Linked DNA regions of Homo sapiens: all the other regions are linked to region 2. The links are contacts of gene promoters, found by promoter capture Hi-C in blood cells and fetal thymus (Javierre and others, 2016). All regions are on one chromosome and are shown on one strand. The core of a region is centred on a gene start or on the middle of the fragment in contact, and the rest is flanking DNA. Distances in the headings are between cores, read along the strand shown. Region 1 overlaps PTDSS1 (phosphatidylserine synthase 1). Region 2 holds the start of TSPYL5 (TSPY like 5). Region 3 holds the start of UQCRB (ubiquinol-cytochrome c reductase binding protein).

What was found. The method cuts DNA at HindIII sites, captures the fragments that hold promoters and counts their contacts. A CHiCAGO score of 5 or more calls a contact.
Region 1: a contact is called between a fragment that was not itself captured here and the fragment with the promoter of TSPYL5 in region 2, in 2 of 17 cell types (naive B cells and total B cells). The highest score is 7.2, in naive B cells.
Region 3: a contact is called between the fragment with the promoter of UQCRB here and the fragment with the promoter of TSPYL5 in region 2, in 4 of 17 cell types (fetal thymus, naive B cells, total CD4 T cells and 1 more). The highest score is 10.1, in fetal thymus.

What each region holds. Positions count from the first base shown.
Region 1 is chr8:96,263,494-96,266,318 of GRCh38, forward strand. All of the region lies in intron 1 of PTDSS1 (phosphatidylserine synthase 1), which reads left to right. LOC105375652 (a long non-coding RNA gene) reads right to left here. Exons shown (of 3, transcript XR_928431.3): 2 at 2,763-2,825; 3 at 1,313-1,399. Among named protein-coding and RNA genes, the nearest start is that of PTDSS1, 3.0 kb to the left of the region's middle. The HindIII fragment of the contact is 2,143 bases long and covers 487-2,629 here.
Region 2 is chr8:97,276,483-97,279,417 of GRCh38, forward strand. TSPYL5 (TSPY like 5) reads right to left here and starts at 1,446. Exons shown (of 1, transcript NM_033512.3): 1 at 1-1,446. The coding sequence starts at 1,362. The coding sequence ends at 109. The region is part of intron 2 of LOC101927066 (a long non-coding RNA gene); the gene reads right to left. RefSeq lists an enhancer at 483-984. The HindIII fragment of the contact is 4,352 bases long and covers 1-2,763 here.
Region 3 is chr8:96,234,193-96,237,015 of GRCh38, forward strand. UQCRB (ubiquinol-cytochrome c reductase binding protein) reads right to left here and starts at 1,353. Exons shown (of 4, transcript NM_006294.5): 1 at 1,320-1,353. The coding sequence starts at 1,338. UQCRB-AS1 (UQCRB antisense RNA 1) reads left to right here and starts at 1,101. Exons shown (of 2, transcript NR_183275.1): 1 at 1,101-1,369. RefSeq lists an enhancer at 1,080-1,359. The HindIII fragment of the contact is 3,599 bases long and covers 1-1,860 here.

The DNA.
Region 1 (2,825 bases), core at 308-2,807, 1.0 Mb before region 2:
GATGAAATATCTACTTATATAGGGTTATGAAAATTAAATGAATGTGTGTGAATGCATTTAGCAGAGTCCCTGGAGCACAATGTACAATTCATGTCAGTTACTTCTCTCCCAGTATTTTTATCCAACAATCAAGGTTCTCTGTCAGGGTCAGCAGAACATGTGTAGGGATATATATATTGGGTAGTCACAAGGATTGAGAGAACTTCTAGTATTTGGGAGGGGGAGCAGTTAACGGATACTAAATGTATTGTGACATATGTGACAGCGCTGTACAACATAAAGGGAATTGTCTTCTACACAGTCGTTTGCATACACACACACAAGTGCCGGTGGTGCCTCCCTTAGGAATAACTGCAGTTTTTCAAATCCTCATAAAACTAATATCCTCCCACATCACACTTGTTCCTTACCTCTGGGATTCATTTGACTCTTGGTTCTTGTTATGTAAGTGTTTATCCATTTGAAAGAATCTACCTAAAGGTATAAAGCTTAAGTAACAATTGCTTACTCTTTAATGATTGAGGGATCTTGCCACTATTACTATAAAATCTGCTAAAGCTGTGCAGCAGGTGAAGACCAGACCTTTCCACAGTACCTGACCAGACATATTTCTAGCTTTGGAGAGAAATGAATCATGTCCCTAACTATGGTTACTTTCAAATACTTCATTATGTTGCCTGATTTTATCACTTAATAGCTGTGTGGCCACATAATTTTGCTAGGCCTCAGTTTCCTTATCTGTATGTAAAATGAAAATATCAATACATTAATCTGTCGGGATTATTTGTCATGAGGATTAAATTCATCTTTTTAGATAATCTGTTTAGCTCAGTGCATGGCAAGTATTAAGTGCTTAATAAACATTAGTGGTTATTACGATGTGATTTCATTGAATGCTACTGTCTTCTAATTTATATTTATTATTGAACGAGGATGTAGTATGCTCTGTAATTGAGAAGGATAAAAGCACTGGAAAAATGGACATTAGATAACATACATACCTGTTTGATGTTAACTTCAGTTTAACTTCATCTTAGGTGTGGGCTTGAAATAATGAAATTAGTGAGGGAGTTTCTCTGGAAATTAGAAAAATAATTATGGTATTTTGTTTTAAATAATGAGAAGCAAGAATGAGCCATTTGTTTCAGCCTTTCATTTTTAATATTATTCTAGGTCCTTTCAAAATAGGTTTCTCTTCCTCTTTTCTGATATAAAAAGTCACAATCTTCTGAAATTTCCTTTTACATCATATTCTGTCAAGGCAGTCAATAAATTGCAGCAGTGAAAGTATAAGAAATGAATACGAATTTTAACAGCTTGTCCAAAATAATAGAAGAACCATAATCTGAACTTCAGACTGTAGTCTCATCCAAAAATGTTAACAATTTTATTTCTTCCACTAATTTCATAAAGAGACAGAAATCACATAATGAAGAACTAATTAATAACAAGTTTCACTTTATATAAAATCATAAGCACCATTAATAGAATTCGTACTTACTAAATCTTACTCATTTTTTGTAATGATTTGTGACTTAAGTGGGGCATTACAATGATAGCTCTATATTCCTCCATAAAGACGGAAAGTAACGACTTCTTAAATGAAAATGTATCCTATGTTCTTTTGTAATGATTAACTCCAGTGCCTTATTATTTATTTTATAAGATTTTAGTTGGACAATTGTTCAGTGCAATTCTTTCAGTAAAACTTAAAAGATATGTCTTAAAGTTTGTTTTGCAAAGACTAGTTGTCTAAGAGAACGAGGAGATAGGATTCTTTTGGGATGTCATATAACCAGTATGTGAGAAACAGTACTTGGGTACTGTCACATGCTTCAGAGATCCAGCAAGAATTTAAAATTACAGAGGATTAGATACCTTGCACTGAAGTCTGAGACAAGTTTGGATTTGTCAAGTAGTTCTTTTGTTAGATGGCCCTTAGGTCAATTCCCTGTTAAACCATAGTATTTAAATATCTCCTGTCTTTATCACCATCATTAAAAATAAAGTTAGATACTACCTAATCATTTTCCTATTTGAAAAAGCTCATTTCCAGCCTGGACAACATGGTGTAACCCTATCTCTACAAACAAACAAAACAAAACAAAACAAAACAAAACAAAACAAAAATTAGCTGGGCGTGGTGGCATGCACCTGGAGGCTGAAGTAAGACGATCACCTGAGCCTAGGAGGCAGAGGTTGCAGTGAGCTGAATCACGCCACCATACTCCAGCCTCCACCCTACTCACTCGACAGAATGAGACCCTGTCTCAAAAGAAAACCAAAAACTTATTTTCCCACATTTTAGAATAAGTAGGCTGGGTGCAATGGCTTACGCCGGTAATCCTAGCACTTTGGGAAGCCAAGGTGGGAGGATTGCTTGAGGCCAAGAGTCCAAGACCAACCTGGCTAACATAGCAAGACCCCATCTCTATTAAAAAATAAATAGTATTTTTATAAATAAATGCTTACGCATATGTCTTAGAAGTTTGTTAGCAAAGTAGGGCAAGGAAAACTTTTGTCTCAAGCTCAGAGTATAATAATTACCTATAAGATACCCTCATATTTACTCTGCATTCAGGGGTTGGTAAACTTGGAAATATTGAATGCCTTTAGTTTAAAAAACTCAAGCTTTAGATTTAGAAAACACCAGAATCTATTAATTCACATTCAAAGAAGCCCACCTCTCCTTAAGAGGCACCTGCCATTAAACAGTAGAATCAGCCTTTGTTAGCACTTGTCCAACAAAAATTGTTACTTACCTAGAAGACGTTGCCTTTCTGCGGATTTGTGTACTTAAGTGATCATCAATTTGTCTATGCTTC
Region 2 (2,935 bases), core at 196-2,695:
CAAAGGGTCTATAGTACACAGAGGCCAACATGAAGAGAAGGCAGAGAGCCAAATATGTAGTCAACCAGGAGCAGCCCAGCAGGAGGTAGCAGGGAGACTTGTGCAGGATCAGTTGGATTGGCTCACCCCAGGCTGAGTAGTCTCCATTGGCTGCTTTCCTGGACCTTGCCTGCCTTCTTTTTCCTTTCCTTTCTCTACACGAGCCCCTTCACTCAAAAGGTAGAACTGCAAGGGATTGGGCCACAATTCTTCGTTGATTATCTCCACAATCTTGTCAGACTCAATGGAGCTGTGGTTTGAAAACCACCCAAAGAAACTACGGTTGTTTTCTGGGTTTCCCTGGCTTAGGGACTGGAGATCATGCCCTGGGAGCCACTGGATTGGAGTAGAACGAGACACCACCTGGCCAGAAGGACCACACCCATATTCCTTGATGAGCACCTTATTTTGGAAATACGGGTTGCGATCGAAGTAGAACTTGATTTTGTAGCCCAATCTGGCAAGGCCGAGCTCTTCCACTTCCAAGCTGTTTAAGTAGCTCAGTACCTCTTTCTCTTGGCTATTCAGAAAGGATGCTAGCTGGGGATGGTTCTGAAATGCTTGCCCCCAGAAGCCCGGGATATTTTGGATGAGGTGGTTCCTGCGCTCCAAGTGCTGCAGTCGCAACTGCCCAAACTTCCTGGAGAGCCGAAGGTAGGCCCTGTCCGCCTGGGCGTTCATGTTCTCCAGCTTCAGCTGCACGTTCTCCAGCGTATCCATGCTGCCTTCCGTCGCTGGGGGCCCCGACCCTGCATCCCTCTCTTCCTTCTTTTCCTCCCCAGCTGACACCGAGGTATTCTCCCCTGCCGCCCCTTTCTTCTGCCTCCCACCAGCTATGACCTGAGGCCCCCTCCCCGCGGTGCTACAGGTTTCTGGGGCCTTCTTCCCGGCAGGGCCACGCCGGTTTCCAACGCGGGGGGCATTTTTCGGCCTTCCCACGGTTCCCGCTGTTCCCACGAAGACAGTGTCTGCGGCCAGGCGCTCCGAGAGAGATGCGGCCTTCCCCGGGCCGGGCCTGGCCGCGGCCTGCCCGTGGTCCCCCGCAGCTCGGGCCCGCAGCGCGAGGCCACAGTCCAGGGGGAGCCGGCAGGCGGCCTCCTCCCCGAGCCGGAGGAGCTGCGCGGACGCAGCGGCTTCCAGGCCACCCCACCCCGCGCCAGCCTGCACCTGTGCCGCCTGGGTGTCTTCCCCGAGACTCTGGTACTGTGAAGGGTCCGGGTCGCGCGGGGCGTCGTCCGGAGCAGGGCGGACTCGGGCTTTGGCGCGGCCTTTGCCCCGGTTTTTGGCGCGGGAGGACTTTCGACCCCGACTTCGGCCGCTCATGGTGGCGGCGGAGGCAGCTTCAAAGACACGCTGTGACCCTGCGGCTCCTGACGCCAGCTCTCGGTCGGGACCGAGCGGGTCTCTCCACGGCAACCGCCGACGTCACGAACGTACAACTGTACCGTCGCGAGAGGACGTGATGCGCCCGGTGATTGGCGCCGCCGCTGCGGCTGCGCAGGAGACGACCCCCGCGGGCGCTCCCACCCCCATCTCGCGCGGACTCGCTTTAGGTCTCGGCGAGTTTCTCTGATATGCGCTCGCGGGGGTGCTGCCATTTCATCTCTTCCGCGCGGGCTCATCGTGCTCTCAGGGTCTCGTTGAACAAGGCAACGCTAAGAGCCATCACCACCTGTCCCCCATCACCTGTTTTCTAAACTAAACATCTTCAGCTCCTCCAGTTATCTCTTGTGGCATCTGTCATGAAGAAAGTGCTCGGGCGTGTGTGTCTCTCTTTGAACACCTTTGCTGAGGGATTTGCTCTGGTACCTTAACTCCAGAGAACGTAAAGGTGGATGCTATAATGCCGGGCGTCAAAGCGATTTGGTACGCAGTAAGATGATAGTAGAAATTATAAAAATAATGGCAACTAGTATTTTGTATCATTTGTGCCAGGCACTTTACTAGGTGCTTTAAATGCATTATCTCAATTTACAAAGGAGGTGTTGATATCATTCCCATTTTCGAGATAAGAAAACTGCATCTCAGAGACACCCGGGCACATTCCCCAGGTTACACAGTAAGGGATGGAAGCACAATTCAAACTCAAGCCCATGGGACTCCGTATCCTATGCCTTATATTTGGAAATGGCAAGTCCTTCCAGACTTGTTCCACTGTCAATTACTGGGCTGGCTCTTAAGAAATCAGCCTTGCTCCTTAACAAACAGGCTTCCGTGGACCACCTGACCACCTCTTCTGCCTGGGAACATCACCCGAGTCCCCCAGCTGCCTCAGTTTACAGATCTGGACTATCACTCTAGGTATAGGACCAGAAGTGAAGACCTGTATTAGAGCTCCTGTAATTGGAGTAAGACAAGAATGTGGTGAGAGGTGAAATTATTATTCAGGGAGCAGATTGAGGTTCAGAAGCAGAGCCTCCACGTGGCACTGCAGAAGCCCTAGAAACTTCTTACACTGTGCATGGAAACAGCCGGACAACCTCCCCCACAGTCCCGGAGGCAGCCCTGGACCACGCTCTTACTAGTGAGGTAATAGGACCATGAACAGTGAGGGGACCTGTGGCTAATGTAAAAATATAAAGAAAAACCTTTTGAGGTGGTCTTTTCAGGCTCAAAGGGAACAAAAAGGCCCTTGTAACCAGCTAGTGGAGAGATAAGCCCAAAAGCCCCGGGACCTCATTACTCAAAGTGTGGTTGTGGACCAGCAGCCTGATATCACCTGAAAGCTTGTTAAAGATGCAGAATCTCAGGCCTTTCCCCAGACCTACTAAGTCAGAATTTGAATTTTAACAAGATCCTGGGTGATTTGTATACACCCCTAAGTTTAAGGAAACAATTTAAAGAGGAATTATTTTTATACAGATGGCCCTATTTTAAGCCGGCCTAATACAAGTGA
Region 3 (2,823 bases), core at 103-2,602, 1.0 Mb before region 2:
AATCTCCTTGGAAATTAAGAGTCATGTATAAAACTGCTGCTAGAAAAACAAGTATCAGTCAACAATCTACAAACATACTTGTGGAAGACAGATTATATTCAACCACCTATCAGTGACTATAATAATATTCACTAAGCACTTATTGTGCACCAAACACTTTCCTATTTGCTTTACCAACATTAGCTGATTTATTTACATGTCTGTTACTACAGAAGGGGAAGCTGGCTTACAGAAGTGATCCCACCCAAGGTCAGAGTTAGCTAATGGGAGTTGAGATCTGGTCTATGTAGTTCCCAAACACGCACAGAAGCAGTGTCTTGAATTTAGTAAGACTCCTTCAATATCTGCCAAATTAATAAAATAATTATTTAAAAAGTCTCCCCCACCCCCAAAAAGCTCAATGTCAATTAGGTTAACGGATGTTTCTGGCAACCTGATGTTTCCTAACAGCTTCACAATTGCTGGGGGCGGGGAGAAAAGGATCAACATTTTTTAAGCTACTCCAACTTGGTTGCATTGCAGTGAGACGAGATTGTGCCATTGCACTCCAGCCTGGGCGACAAAGCAAGACTCCGTCTCAAAGACAAAACAAACAAACAAACAAAACGGCTACTCCAACTTGTACCGCCAGAGGGCAGAGATTAGCAAAAAAAAAAAAAAAGAAAGAAAAAAGAAAAAAAGAACCTACAATAAATTCAAATTTCTCCAAACCTACTGATCAAGCTGACGCTCTAGATAATCCAAGGTCAACCTGAAGCGTCGCTCGTATCCCTTGCTCAACTGTCTCTGATTCGCAGTTTGAGAAGCGCGAGGGGTGCAATGATATTTCCAATTCTACTTCCTTGGGTCACTTTGCCTCAGTTATCTTATCAGCGTAAAAGGGAAATTAATATCTCCCTCGTCGCAATGGCAAGAAAATTTATAGGGCCAATGCACACGATAGAGCACTTGGGTCATAGAAAGCACTGAGCTCATTCGGGTTGAAAGTCATCCACTAGTTATCCTCTTGTGCCCTTTAACTTTTCTAAGGCCAAGGGGAAGGACTTCCAAGCACGGGCAGCTGGAACTCCAGGGCTGTCAGAGCCACCGCGGGCACCTTCACAAACAGCGGGTTAACATCCCAACCCTATACAGGCAAGCCCGCCCTGGGGACAGCAAACGAGTGGGGAAGCACATCCTTTTCACTGGACTGAAGCAGCCAATTTCCCTTCCGCGACAAACTTGGCCACTTACAAAGAAGAGAGAAAACGGAGCAAGCTGCAGCAAAAATAAACGGTGAAGCGCGACGATGCCGGCCAAGAAGACCCCCAGTTACTTACCGGCCTGCTTACCAGCCATTTTGACCAGAAAGAGAAGCGTTGCCTTCTGGGTAAGTCATAGAGGACAAGCTGGGCCCAGTCCGCAGGCGCGTTACGTCACATCGCGAACAGAGAAAGGCCGCTTGCGCAGGCGCAGTTCTGACGACTGCCGTTCAGCACCTGCGTAAGCACCTCTCGGCCAGGGTGAGGCCAATGGAGTAGGCGGGGCATTTTGCGTGCTACATTCTAAGAAGTATTGGTTGTGATGTGATGGGAAGAACACAGGTCAGGAATTAGGAGACCAAGGCTTAAAGCTGGGTTCTGTTATTTGCTGTTAATAGCTATGGGAGCGTGGACAGTATTAATTCAGCTCTTTGTGCCAGGCAGGAAGCTAAATGTTTTAAGGGCATCGTCTTACTTTCTATTGAAGGACTGATGGATGTGCCATCCCAAAAATATATGGAATTGGTACATTGATTATTTCGAGTTGAAAATATTGGAGAAATTGTAGTTTCAGAAAAGGTTTGATGACCTATCTCTTCCTGCATGCAGCAAGCCATAAAGCTTCCTCCAGGATTCCTCTGGAGTACCCGTCCCTTACCAGAGGGAGAAAATAGCACCTATCACCAGAGACGAAACTGGGGGCTGCTTTGGACCTGAATATACTTTCCGAAGTAACCGTTATCTTCCACTAAGTTTACACCCCAACACACACACTTTTCTCCTAATGACTCCGCGAGAAATTTACTGCCCCTAGCCAGATCCCCTTTCTTCTGATTTGTAGTTCGTGTAAAAAGTATAAAGGCATCTTACATTGGCCACTTCACTCTTTTGTGCGGATCCCCATGTACATGTAAAACTAGTAAAATTAGTATGCTTTTCTCTTGTTAATCTGCCATGTGTCAATTTGGTTCCTAGATTCAACCAAAGAGCCCACATAAGAGCAAAGGGGAGGGAGGGTTGGAGGTGATCTCTCACTCCCCTAAACTATCTTTTAATTCTAAAAGTACTGTAATTATCTCATTGTAGAGAGGAGAAAGCTGAGGCTCAGAAAGGTTGAATAACTTGTCCAAGAGCACATGACTAGAAGAGTCCAGGTTCTTCTTCCAGAATCTGAAAATCCAGATGCAAATTTGGGGCTCCTTAATTCTAGGGTCATATGCTATACTGCTACACTACTAATCCAGGAAAGACACCAAGCCTTTCAGGCCTTGGGTTTCTCCAGCTGAAGATCTATATCTAGCTATTTTAGTGGAAGGTTAGGTCAGAAAAGGTTTTGGGTTTTTTTTGTTTGTTTTTTTTCACCCTTTTTTTTGTTGTTCAGCCTCTGTCACCCAGGCTGAATGGCACAATCTCGGCTCACTGCAACCTCTGCCTCCTGGGTTCAAATGACTCGTGCCTCAGCCTCCTGAGTAGCTGGGACTACAGGTGTACACACTACCATGCCCGCTAATTTTTGTATTTTTAGTAGAGACGGGGTTTCACCGTGTTGGCCAGGCTGGTATCAAACTCTTGACCTCAAGTG